4 separate regions of the Homo sapiens genome follow, and all the other regions are linked to region 4. The links are contacts of gene promoters, found by promoter capture Hi-C in blood cells and fetal thymus (Javierre and others, 2016). All regions are on one chromosome and are shown on one strand. The core of a region is centred on a gene start or on the middle of the fragment in contact, and the rest is flanking DNA. Distances in the headings are between cores, read along the strand shown.

Evidence for each region. Contacts are between HindIII fragments. The CHiCAGO score rates a contact against its expected background, and 5 or more counts as called.
Region 1: a fragment that was not itself captured here is called in contact with the fragment with the promoter of LINC00200 in region 4 in 1 of 17 cell types (endothelial precursors); the score reaches 7.2 in endothelial precursors.
Region 2: a fragment that was not itself captured here is called in contact with the fragment with the promoter of LINC00200 in region 4 in 1 of 17 cell types (total B cells); the score reaches 5.1 in total B cells.
Region 3: a contact is called between the fragment with the promoter of PFKP here and the fragment with the promoter of LINC00200 in region 4, in 8 of 17 cell types (endothelial precursors, naive B cells, M0 macrophages and 5 more). The highest score is 11.1, in endothelial precursors.

The regions. Positions count from the first base shown.
Region 1 is chr10:3,032,507-3,035,206 of GRCh38, forward strand. No RefSeq gene overlaps it. Among named protein-coding and RNA genes, the nearest start is that of PFKP-DT, 33 kb to the right of the region's middle. The HindIII fragment of the contact is 4,100 bases long and covers 1-2,700 here.
Region 2 is chr10:2,939,907-2,942,606 of GRCh38, forward strand. No RefSeq gene overlaps it. Among named protein-coding and RNA genes, the nearest start is that of PFKP-DT, 130 kb to the right of the region's middle. The HindIII fragment of the contact is 242 bases long and covers 1,310-1,551 here.
Region 3 is chr10:3,066,298-3,068,997 of GRCh38, forward strand. It overlaps PFKP (phosphofructokinase, platelet), which reads left to right and starts at 1,251. Exons shown (of 22, transcript NM_002627.5): 1 at 1,251-1,410. The coding sequence starts at 1,299. It overlaps LOC124902536 (wiskott-Aldrich syndrome protein family member 1-like), which reads left to right and starts at 273. Exons shown (of 1, transcript XM_047426132.1): 1 at 273-1,051. The coding sequence starts at 406. The coding sequence ends at 843. It overlaps PFKP-DT (PFKP divergent transcript), which reads right to left and starts at 636. Exons shown (of 4, transcript NR_160681.1): 1 at 456-636. RefSeq lists silencers at 980-1,079, 1,090-1,489, 1,910-2,089, 2,503-2,683 and an enhancer at 2,290-2,359. The HindIII fragment of the contact is 10,799 bases long and covers 1-2,700 here.
Region 4 is chr10:1,158,506-1,161,205 of GRCh38, forward strand. LINC00200 (long intergenic non-protein coding RNA 200) reads left to right here and starts at 1,263. Exons shown (of 3, transcript NR_015376.2): 1 at 1,263-1,485; 2 at 2,048-2,132. It overlaps LOC105376344 (a long non-coding RNA gene), which reads right to left and starts at 1,257. Exons shown (of 3, transcript XR_930535.3): 1 at 759-1,257. The HindIII fragment of the contact is 5,498 bases long and covers 1-1,926 here.

The DNA.
Region 1 (2,700 bases), core at 77-2,576, 1.9 Mb after region 4:
GCTCTCCCTTATAAGTGGGAGCTAAGCTATGAGGATGCAAAGACATACGAATGATATGATGGACTTTGGGGACTCGGCGGGGGGGAAGGTTGGGGTCTGAGGGATAAAAGACTACACCTTGGGTACAGTGTATACTGCTTGGGTGACAGGTGCACTAAAATCTCAGGAATCTCCACTAAAAAATGTGTAAACAAAACTACTTCTACCCCAAAAACTATTGAAAAAAAAAGCATGCCAAGTAAGAAAACAATAAAGTGATGGCAATTCATACCTGAAAGCTGATAACACGGCTGATGACCACTGGCACTGAGGCTGTGTGCTGGTGACTTCAGAAAATCAAGGGTACAACAGCCACCATCTTGGACAGAAAAATCACAGACCAGGATAGGACATGTATGCACCTGCGAGTGCGTATCACCTGTGTATTTTAATAAAATATAAAATACAACATCAGGACCGCCACACAGATGGGACTGTTGTTCAAGAAGCCGGTGATCAAGAGCTGAGCCCATGGAGACTTAAGGAGCAGGTGTTTTTTCCTTTGAGCCCATTGAAGGCTGAGGATACGATATTTCTGCCACCAATAAATAGTTTGTTATTCCATGAATATCTTGGAAGCCATTCTGAAACTGATCAATTCGAGAAAACAAGAGACCGATTACATGTTACAGGGGGGAAAAGTAAATGCAGTAAGACTCACTCACCCTGTGTCTCGCTCAACCAAAGGATGGACATGTCTGATGCATAGAGATACGGCAGTCTATATTTATTGAAGCTGGTAGGATTGGAAAACAAAACAGCATTCAATTATTGACCCAATTGTTTGTGGATGGGGTGGTGATTTCCAGGTCTCTTGTTTGTAGCCACATTTTTTCTATCCCTGTTTGCCTTATTATTAATATTTAATCGATCATTATTAAATAGGTCCTACCAAGTGCTACTAAGAGTCAGGTGCCATCTGTAGTGTTTGGTGTATTTTTTTCTAATTATGTCATTATCCCTACAGGTTGACTTATTTTTATGTCACAGATAAGACAAAGACTCAAAGGAAAGTGACCATGTTTCTGAACTTCGCCCAGCTAATAAGCAGCTGAGCTCAATTCAAACCCAAATCTGGCTCAACAGCCCAAACTCTTTATCCAGAAATTACGTTCTATTACATTTAGAAATATAAAACCAGATCAGGCAGGTGGCTCACACCTGTAATCCTGGCACTCTGGGAGGCCGAGGCAGGCGCATCACTTGAGGTCAGGAGTTCGAGACCAGCCTGGCCAACATGCTGAAACCCCGTCTCTATTAAAAATGCAAAAATTAGCCAGGTGTGGTGGTGTGTGCCTGTAGTTCCAGCTACCCGGGAGGCTGAGACAGGAGAATCGCTTGAACCCAGGAGGTGGAGGTTGCAGTGAGCCATGATCATGTCACTACACTCCAGCCTGGGTGACAGAGTGAGACTCCGTCTCAAAAACAAACAAACCAAAAAAAAAAAAAGAAAGAAATAGAAAACTGACTGCATATCAAGAGGTCCTTAAGAATAACAGCAGAGGCTGTGCTGCAGCCCATGGCCCACGAGCCCAGGGAGGCACAGCCCTGGTGCCATGGACAAATAGGCAGATGGCGTCTCTCTCAGTGTCCTTGTCCAGTGAGTGGGAACACTATGGCACTTTCCTCATGAGGTTATTAGGATGATTACGTAAATTAGAAATGCTAAAGGGCTTGGCGTGGTGCCTGGCACACAGCACAACACTTACAAAAAAAAAATCAGTAAAATAGAAATGTCAGTACAAGAGACAATGCTCACATTGGGATCATGTTACTGAGACCTAGTATTTGCCAGTACCAAACTTCTTTAGGAGAAGATCCCCAGACTGACCAATAGGATTCTAAGTTAGGTCATATTAGGATCTGCCCAGGACTTGCTGGATGTAATTAGTAAAGGTGACCAACTTGGGAGAACAAAAGGTTGTTCGTGGACATTCTTTTACCTTCTATAATAGATAAAGCCTTGTGTTCCTCAGTGCACCCACAGAACTCTTGTGAAAGGAGACTTTAAGGATATAAATTATCTTCTGGATCAAGCATGACTGATTTTTAGAAAAAAGTTTCAACGATGTAAAGGTCAGACATTCATGGTATTCTTGTTCAACAAAGTAGACGCTGAGATACAGTGAAGAGGTATTGTTGGAAGTTCCTCTTTATTGCTATATTATTTTAAATAGTTTTAATAAGAAAATTTGAGGAAACTGAAGTAGTCAAATGAGTCAAAATGCCCGAGTCTTCTGAAGATTAGGAAATCCATGATTCAGGAAAAATAGTGACCCTAATTATTCTCCAGTGGTTTTGGTTCAGCAGTTAATTCCATTTCTCACTGCGATTAAAATAGCTAAAGCTGACAACATGTGCTTTGCATGCCAACTATCTCAACTTCCCCTTCTACAAAAGTAAAACAACCCAAAATTAATAAACAGCAACATTCCAGTGTCCTTCACGATAACATTGAAGCCTGCCCCCTCCTTTAACAGTAACATTGATTGCTCCTATGTCTTGGAGCGTCTTTTCTTAAAAAAAAATTTTAAAAAAAAGTTTGAGTCAAGTCATTCATTTACACATCTGTAGGGGGACTTTTCCTTTCCTTCCACCTCAGTATTTATGGGCCTAATTTATCTATAAACATAGGGACCTCATATCCAGAGAGAACTCCCA
Region 2 (2,700 bases), core at 181-2,680, 1.8 Mb after region 4:
AAACTTTATTCAAAAATCCACTGCATGTATGTAACATATTTGTGAGATTATTACTAGACCCTCTAGGAGGTTTCATTAGCCCAGTTTTCTCTTATTATACCAATACCACACTATCTTGATAGTTAAGGTAAGTCCTCCACCTTTTTTTTTCCAAGTTGTCTTAGCTTTTTTGGGTTCTTTGAATTTCCAGACACGTTTTGGAAACTGCTTGTTCATTTCTACTGAAAAAAAAATAGAATAAAATAAAATCATGCTGGGATTTTGACTGGAATTGCATTAAACCTGTAGATCCACAAGGGCACAATTGACATCTTAACAATATTGAGCCTGCTGATCCATGAACACAGTATATCACTTCATTTATTTAGTTATTTAATTTATCTCAGCGTCACTGCCTGCTTTTCAGTGTATAGATCTTACACATCTTTTGTCAGATTTAGTCTTAAATATTTCATTTTTTGATGTGCTATAAATAATATTGCTTTGTAAATTTCCATTTCCAATTATTTCATGCCAGTGTATAAAGAGATAAATACTGCTTGTGTGTTGATCTTGTATCTTGCAAACTTTCCAAACTCATTTATTAGTAAGTAATTTATTATTATTAGTTTTAGTGGCTTTTTGTGACTTCAGGAGATTTTCCACATAGGTGATTAGGTCACCTGCAGATACAGATAGTTTTAAATCTTATTTTCTAGTAAAGGTGTGTTTTATATATTTCAACTTGCCTTATTGCACTGGCTAGACTCCAAAACAATGCTGAAAAGCAGTAAGGAAAAAAGCCATCTGGTGGGATGGTAAATACAGCCCTTGTTCTTCCATTTTGACCGGAAGCATCCAGTGTGATCATTTTCTCATTTGATTTTTGTGAGGATTTTTAGGGGTTTTTTTTCTTTATTTTTTAAAAATACACTTTATCTTTTAGGCAGTTTTAGGTTTACAGAAAAATTGAGGGAAAGGTACTGAGAGTCCTTTTATATGCCTTCCGTTCCCCCACATGCACAGCCTCCTCCACTAACAACACTCCTGCCCAGAGGGAGCATTAGTAACAATTGAAGAACCTACATTGACATATTGTCACCCAGAGTCCACAGTTTACATGAGGGCTCACTCTTGGTGCTGGTTCTATGGGTGTAACAAATGTATCATGACATGTATCCACCATCATAGCGTCATACAGAGCAGTTGCACTAAAATCCTAAAAATCCTCCATGTTCCACCTGATCATCTCTCCCTCTTCCCAACACCTGGGAACCACTAATATTTTCACTCCATAGTTTGGCCTTCTTCAGAATGTCCTTTAGTTGGAAGCTTACAGTATTTAGTCTTTTCCGATGGGTATCTTTCGTGTAGTCGTATGTGTTTAAAGTTCCTTCATTTCTTTTCATGACTTGATAGCTCATTTCTTTTCGGTGTTAAAGAATATTCCATTGTCTGGATATATCACATTATTTATCCACTCACCTACTGAAGAATATTTTGGTTTCTTGGTTGCCTCCAAGTTTGAGCAATTATGAATAAAGCTGCTATAAAATTAGCAATTATGAATAAAGCTTCTGTAAACGTCCATGTGCAGGTTTTTCTGTGAACACAAGTTTTCAACTCCTTTGGATAAATGCAATTGCTGGATCACATGTTAAGAGTATATCTAGTGCCCATCAATGATAGACTGGATAAACAAAATGTGGCACGTGTACACCATGGAATACTATGCAACCATAAAAAAGAATGAGTTCTTGTCCTTTACAGGGACAGGGATGAAGCTGGTAACCATCATTCTCAGTAAACTAACACAGGAACAGAAAACCAAACACCACATTTTCTCACTCGTGAGTGGGAGGTGAACAATGAGAACACATGGACACAGGGAGGGGAACATCACACACTGGGGCCTGTTGGGGGGTGGCAGCAAGAGGAGGAAGAGCATTAGGACAAATACTTAATGCATGCAGGGCTTAAAACCTAGATGACAGGTTGATAGGTGCAGCAAACCACCATGGCACATGTATACCTGTGTAACAGACCTGCACATGTATCCCAGAACTTAAAGTAAAATTAAAAAATAAAAAAAAGGCTAGGCGCAGTGGCTCACGCCTGTAATCCCAGCACTTTGGGAGGCCGAGGTGGGCGGATCACGAGGTCAGGAGATCGAGACCATCCTGGCTAACACGGTGAAACCCCATCTCTACCAAAAAAATACAAGAAATTAGCCAGGCGTGGTGGCGGGTGCCTGTAGTCCCAGCTACTCGGGAGGCTGAGGCAGGAGAATGGCGTGAACCTGGGAGGCGGAGCTTGCAGTGAGCCGAGATCGCGCCACTGCACTCCAGCCTGGGCGACAGAGCGAGACTCCGTCTCAAAAAGAAAATAATAATAAATAATAATAATAATGATAAATAAAGAGTATATTTAGTTTGGTAAGACAATGTGATAATTTTACAAACACAAAGTATGTCATACTCACTTCCCCACCTCCCTCAAGTGCTTTCAACAGCGTCCCATTGCTGTTATTAAGAGAAAAAAGCATCTACCATAATCTCCCAGCCCCTTCCTGCCTGCCTTCGTTCTTGTCTTGTCTTGCGCCGCTTTCTCTCTTGCTTACTTCCTTGCACGTGCCTGTTTCCTGCTGCAGGAGGCGTTCTGCATGCACCCCCGTCTCTGTTTAGACTGTGGTGTCCCTACACTCTGCCCCCCTGAACAATC
Region 3 (2,700 bases), core at 1-2,500, 1.9 Mb after region 4:
TGAGCACTGAAGGAACCCGGGTCCCATAAGCCCGTGCTTCTATGGGGGCTGCCCCCTCTCCCATCGCAGGGTAACTGGCACCAGGCTGTTAAGCTGTGGATGGGCAACCGCACAGTGCATTGGATGTGAGTATTTCAGTACGTGGAGCTGGCCAGTGGAGCCGGCCGAGGTCAGGCAGAGCGTACAGCAGCGCGCGTGTCCGTGGGGAGGGAGGGTCCTCCCGCCTCCCCGCCTCCCCGCCAGGCCAGTCCTGTTGCGCCTCCTCCTGCCCCACTCTGACTTTCCAGCGCCCAGGCCGGGGCGCCGCCAGGGCGTCTCTGAGGGTCGCGCCCCGATACCTTCCTCCACCCCACGGCTTCTTCCCCCCAAGGGCGGGGCTGGGGGCCCAGGAGCACCACAGCCCCCATGGGCCCGGGAAATGGCAGCTTCGTCATGGCCCAGCCCGCCACGCTCACCTTTTCCCACCACCTGGAGGATCCACTCTCCGTCCGTCCTTCCCGACCTCAGGCTGCAGAGGAAACCTGGGGGCGGGGGTCGAGGAAGCCGAGCCCCGAGGCTCCCAGCGCCGCCCCAGGAGGAATCTTGCGGGCCACTAGAAGCTGTGCGCGCGGCCGGGCTCGGCCCCCACAACGGCCCGAGCGGCCGGGCCTGCCGCGAGCCTCCGCGTCCAGGTGGGGTCTCCGCGCCCCCATTCCACCCCTCCCCGCCATCGGCGCTCCCCGCAACTGCGGGGTTTCCACCCGCCCCGGCGCTCGCGCCCACTCACGGTCTCCCTCGCCCCCCCGGGAGATGCTCCCGGCGTTCTATCCCGCCCCGCCCTGGCGCGCCCCGCAAACGATGTGACCCCGGCCCCCTGCGGTCTCCCCTCCTCCGGACGCTGCCCCTGCCCCACCTGTGGCGCTCCCGTCATCTCTAGAGCCCCCAACCAGAGTCCTCCAGCCCACCCGCGAGGCTCGCGCACCTGCGATGCGGCCCCACTAGCAGGGACCCGCCCACCTGTGGCGCTACCCCTGCCTCTGCCGCCTCCCGCACCGCTAGCGCGGCCCCCACCTACGACGACCCCCGCGTAGATGCTCCTGCCCACACCCGCCCCAGCCCCGGCCCCTGCCCCTAGCCGCGCCCGCGCCCCCTCCCCCGCAGCCCCTCCCATACGCTCGGGCCCCGCCCGTCACCGCCCATTGGCGCTGGGGCCGGGCGGGGGCGCGGGCGGGGCGGCGGTTCCGAGTCAGGCGCGCGCGGGCAGGGTCCCCATTGCCTGCTGCGCACCCGGACGTGCGGCTCCCCTCGGCCTCCTCGCCATGGACGCGGACGACTCCCGGGCCCCCAAGGGCTCCTTGCGGAAGTTCCTGGAGCACCTCTCCGGGGCCGGCAAGGCCATCGGCGTGCTGACCAGCGGCGGGGATGCTCAAGGTGCGCGCCCCCCTCCCGGCGGCGAGGGAGGGACGGACGGACGGAGCTGGGGAGAACCGGGCGAAGGCGATGGGGTGACCGGAGAGAAGAGGGGGGAAGCGATGGGGGGGACCCGGGGAAAGGTGGCGAAGCGATGGGGAGAACCGGGGAGAAGAGCGGGGAAGCGATGGGGAGAACCGGGAAGAAGCCCGCGCCCGGAAGCGGCAGGGGTACCTGCGGGGCGGCATGAGCCGGCGAGGCAGCCCCGGGGTCCTTGCCCGGTGGGGCGGGGGAGGAAGGGACATGGCGGTAGGAACCTCCATCCGGAAGATCAGTGAGTTTTCCACCTTCGGTTTTGTTTTAAATGGAACCTGGCAGAGGGAGTCGCCTGAAGCGCCCTCGGGGGTCGTTCTGCCTCTGAGCTGTAGGACGGGGCCGGGCGTCCCCTCCGAAGCGTGGGTACAGCGCGATCACTTCCTAAGTGCCCCCCCGCCCCCCAACTCCGCCGCACGCCACCCCCTAGAATGTCGAGGAAGAAACGGCTGGGTCCCCGCGCGCCTCCTGTCGCCTCGTGCCCTGCGCGGCGTGGGCGGGGTCCTGGCTGCTGCAATGCGGGACGCGGCGGGGGTGCGCGGGGTTCCCGCCTGGCGTCTCCAGGGCGGTCCGGCAGCCCCTCGCGTTTCCGCTGGGAGATTTTTAAAAAGGGTTTCCTGCGCTCGCATGTGCTGTCGCCTTCCGGCTCGTGACAAAAACGAAAACCAAAATGGGTCCCAGGCCCTCCCCGCCAGCCTCCGCAGACGGGAAGGATCAGGAAGCGGGGACTCCGGGATGTCAGCGGCGCCGCGGCGCGGGCTCCGGGCTTCCCTGCCCTGCAATGTGGAAGCTGCTCTCTAGGAGGGGCCCGAGGCTGGGCCCACGGACGCGGGCGCGCCGGGAGGATATTTAACATTGAAGAGCGGAAGGTGGCGGAGACTCGGCGCGCCCCAGGCCCCGGGTGCACGTGGGGGCGCCGGTGCCCGGATGATGGAGTGTCCCGATCCGTGCAATCCCTGGCGGGTAGATCGGCGCTTCCCAGGCGAACGCAACCTGGGAGCCTTAGCGATCGCGCAGGCTGGAGACGCGGCGCGCCCCGAGCTGGGTTTTGATTTTTGTTTTCCCGGTTCCTCCTGCCGCAGATGCGTGGAAAGGCCCGGATGGCGGATTTCCTCCCGTTTCGGGGCCGCGCACTGCACAGGGTTGGAGCGGGGATGCACCCCCTGCCCACTGCGCGGGTGACCTTCCCTTCGCCCTTGAGCGCGCGGGGCGGGCGCG
Region 4 (2,700 bases), core at 13-2,512:
CAATGACACAATCTCCGCTCATTGCAACCTCCACCTCCTGGGGTCAAGCGATTCTCCTACCTCAGCCTCCTGAGTAGCTGGGATCACAGGTGCATGCCACCATGCCCGGCTAATTTTTGTATTTTTAATAGAGATGGGGTTTCACCATGCTGGCCAGGCTGGTCTGGAGCTCCGGACCTCGTGATCCGCCTGCCTCAGCCTCCTAAAGTGCTGTGATTACAGGTGTGAGCCACCGCGCCCAGCCTCCTTCACTTTTTTTCAAAAGCGAGAGCACCCTCATGTACACTGGGAGCTCACTTGAGCACCTTGGTGCTTCACCAGTGAAGGAGGGCTTGGGAGCCGCTTTGACCGTCATTAAAATAGCATTTCAATGATAATACATCAAAAATGTAGTAATATGAAAACTGAAAAACTCCAGTGATGTTTCAAAGCAATGCAGTTTAAAAAAACCAATTCAATCCATTAACCAAAATAAACTTGGGGGAAACAACGCATTTTCTATGCTGGCAAGCAGATGGCCAAGACTGCGTCTGTCTGGGGTGAAAATGCAGGTTGCATCCTGTAGGAAGCCAGCATAGGGACGGGCTGCTCACCTCCCAGGGCGGCAAGGCAGCCGCTGACTCCAGCAGGCCTTGAAACCTCCCCTGCAGACGTAAGAGCATCGTCTCAGGCAGCGCGGCCGCCAAGGTCTCACTGTATCATTCCAAAGCGGGCGAATTTCGAAACATCCAGCTGCTGGCAGCAATAGCAGAACCCACCATGAGGCTCCAGGCATTCGGATGCCGCCAGCGAGGCCAGCAAGCCCACCTCTCCCTGAGCTGCAGTTCGGCTTTCTTCCTCCACAAGCAGGGACGTGGCTTCAGGAACCCGCTGGAGGAGACAAGGGGCCTCCGTGGTCTCAGCCCTCGCTTTGCGCATGGGCTCTGGCCTCGGCACCTGGGCATCTCCATCCTCCCGAGGGCAGTCGGAGGCTGAATGTCTTCAACAGGAGCACAGGCAGGAGAGAGAGAGCTCAGATGTGCTCGAGGCCGGGGTCCACCCCTGTTCTCCTGTGAGAGGGAGGCTGTGAAAATCCAGGAGACAACATCAAAGCGTTGTTTTCCAACACACTGGCCTGCGCGCCCTACGCTTTATGCAGATGAGGGATGGCGCAAGCACAGGCCTGCGCGCAGGGCTTTAGGCAGATGAGGGATGACGCAGGCACAGGCCTGAGCGTCGCACGCTTTGCGTAGATGAGGGATGGCGCCGGCGCAGGCCTGAGCGTCGCACGCTTTGCGTAGATGAGGGATGACGCAGGCACAGGCCTGAGCGTCGCACGCTTTGCGTAGATGAGGGATGGCGCCGGCGCAGGCCTGCGCGCCACGCGCTTTAGGTGGATGAGGGATGGCGCAGGTGCAGGCCTGCGCGCCTCACGCTTTATGTACATGAGGGATGAGGCAGCACAGGAATTGGCACAACCTGAAGTCAGCTCTGCAGCTTTCCAAGGTATGAATGCCCGGGGAGCCAGCGCAGACCCCAGCACACCCCCTGGGCCCAGTGTCCCTGGAAAAGGACATTTCAGCTGAGCTAGGAAGGCTGAGAACAGTTTCCAAAGATACCTGTGATTCAGGTCTCCATTTGTGTCCCAAATGAAAGCGAGTGAAATGAAATATATATATATATAGTTTTTGAGGTTTTGACAGACCCTAAGTCATAGTAGTTTAAAGTAGACAAAAACTATTTTCCTCCCCAATGTGAAACTGTTTTAATTAGTGAGGATTAGTTTCAATGGTGAATGATAGAAAACCCCAAATAATAGAGGCCAAAACCCTTGCCATTTGGAGTGTCGTCAGCATTTCAGCAGGAGATGATGTAAGTCACAAGCCCGGGCTCTCTGGTCAGAGCTTGCATTTTGACAAGATCTGCAGGTGACTTATAGGCATGCTAAGCTTTGAAATAAAAGGGGGGTTTACTTCTCTCTCATATTTAAGTCTGGAAATGATCTCCCAACACTCAGTATTTGCCCCAGGAAGTCAGCAAGCCAGGATTTTTTTTTTTCATTTTCCAGCTTCGTTCTGCGTGTCCTGTACTCAACAGTCATCTCATGCTGCAGGGTGGCTGCGTGTGCTCCGTACATCACACCCATATTTCAGGTAGGGACGGTTCCCGGAGGGTGCTCAGCACCATGCCGACTACTGCTGGCTGGCACGTTCGCACGTGGCCATGTCAGCTCCAAGGAGGATGCTGACATCCTGCTGGCTGGCACGTTCGCACGTGTCCATGTTAGCTGCGAGGGCCATGCCGACATCCTGCTGGCTGGCACTTCCACAGGTAGCCATGTTAGCTGAGAGGGCGATGCCAACATCTTGCTGGCTGGCACGTTTGCACGCGGCCATGTTAGCTGCGAGGACAATGCTTCTGCAACTTTTGGTTTCTTCCCTTTCATCCTCCCACCCCTGACCGTTTTTGCCTGGGAGCAAGTGCCTAATAAATTACCTGCACTCAAATCTTTGGCTCAGAGACTTTCCGAGAGAACCCAAGCTGAGGCAGACAATGAAATCAACACTACCAGCCACTTAGCTGCCAGCTGGGTGGAGAGTGGGCTGCTCTTCCAAGACGCTTTTCAGCCTCTGAAGGCTCATTTCCAGAAGGTCCTGTCTATCTGGGCTACTTGCTTCCAGAGCAGTTGCATCTGGCTGGATAGCTAATGAGCGATAAGGC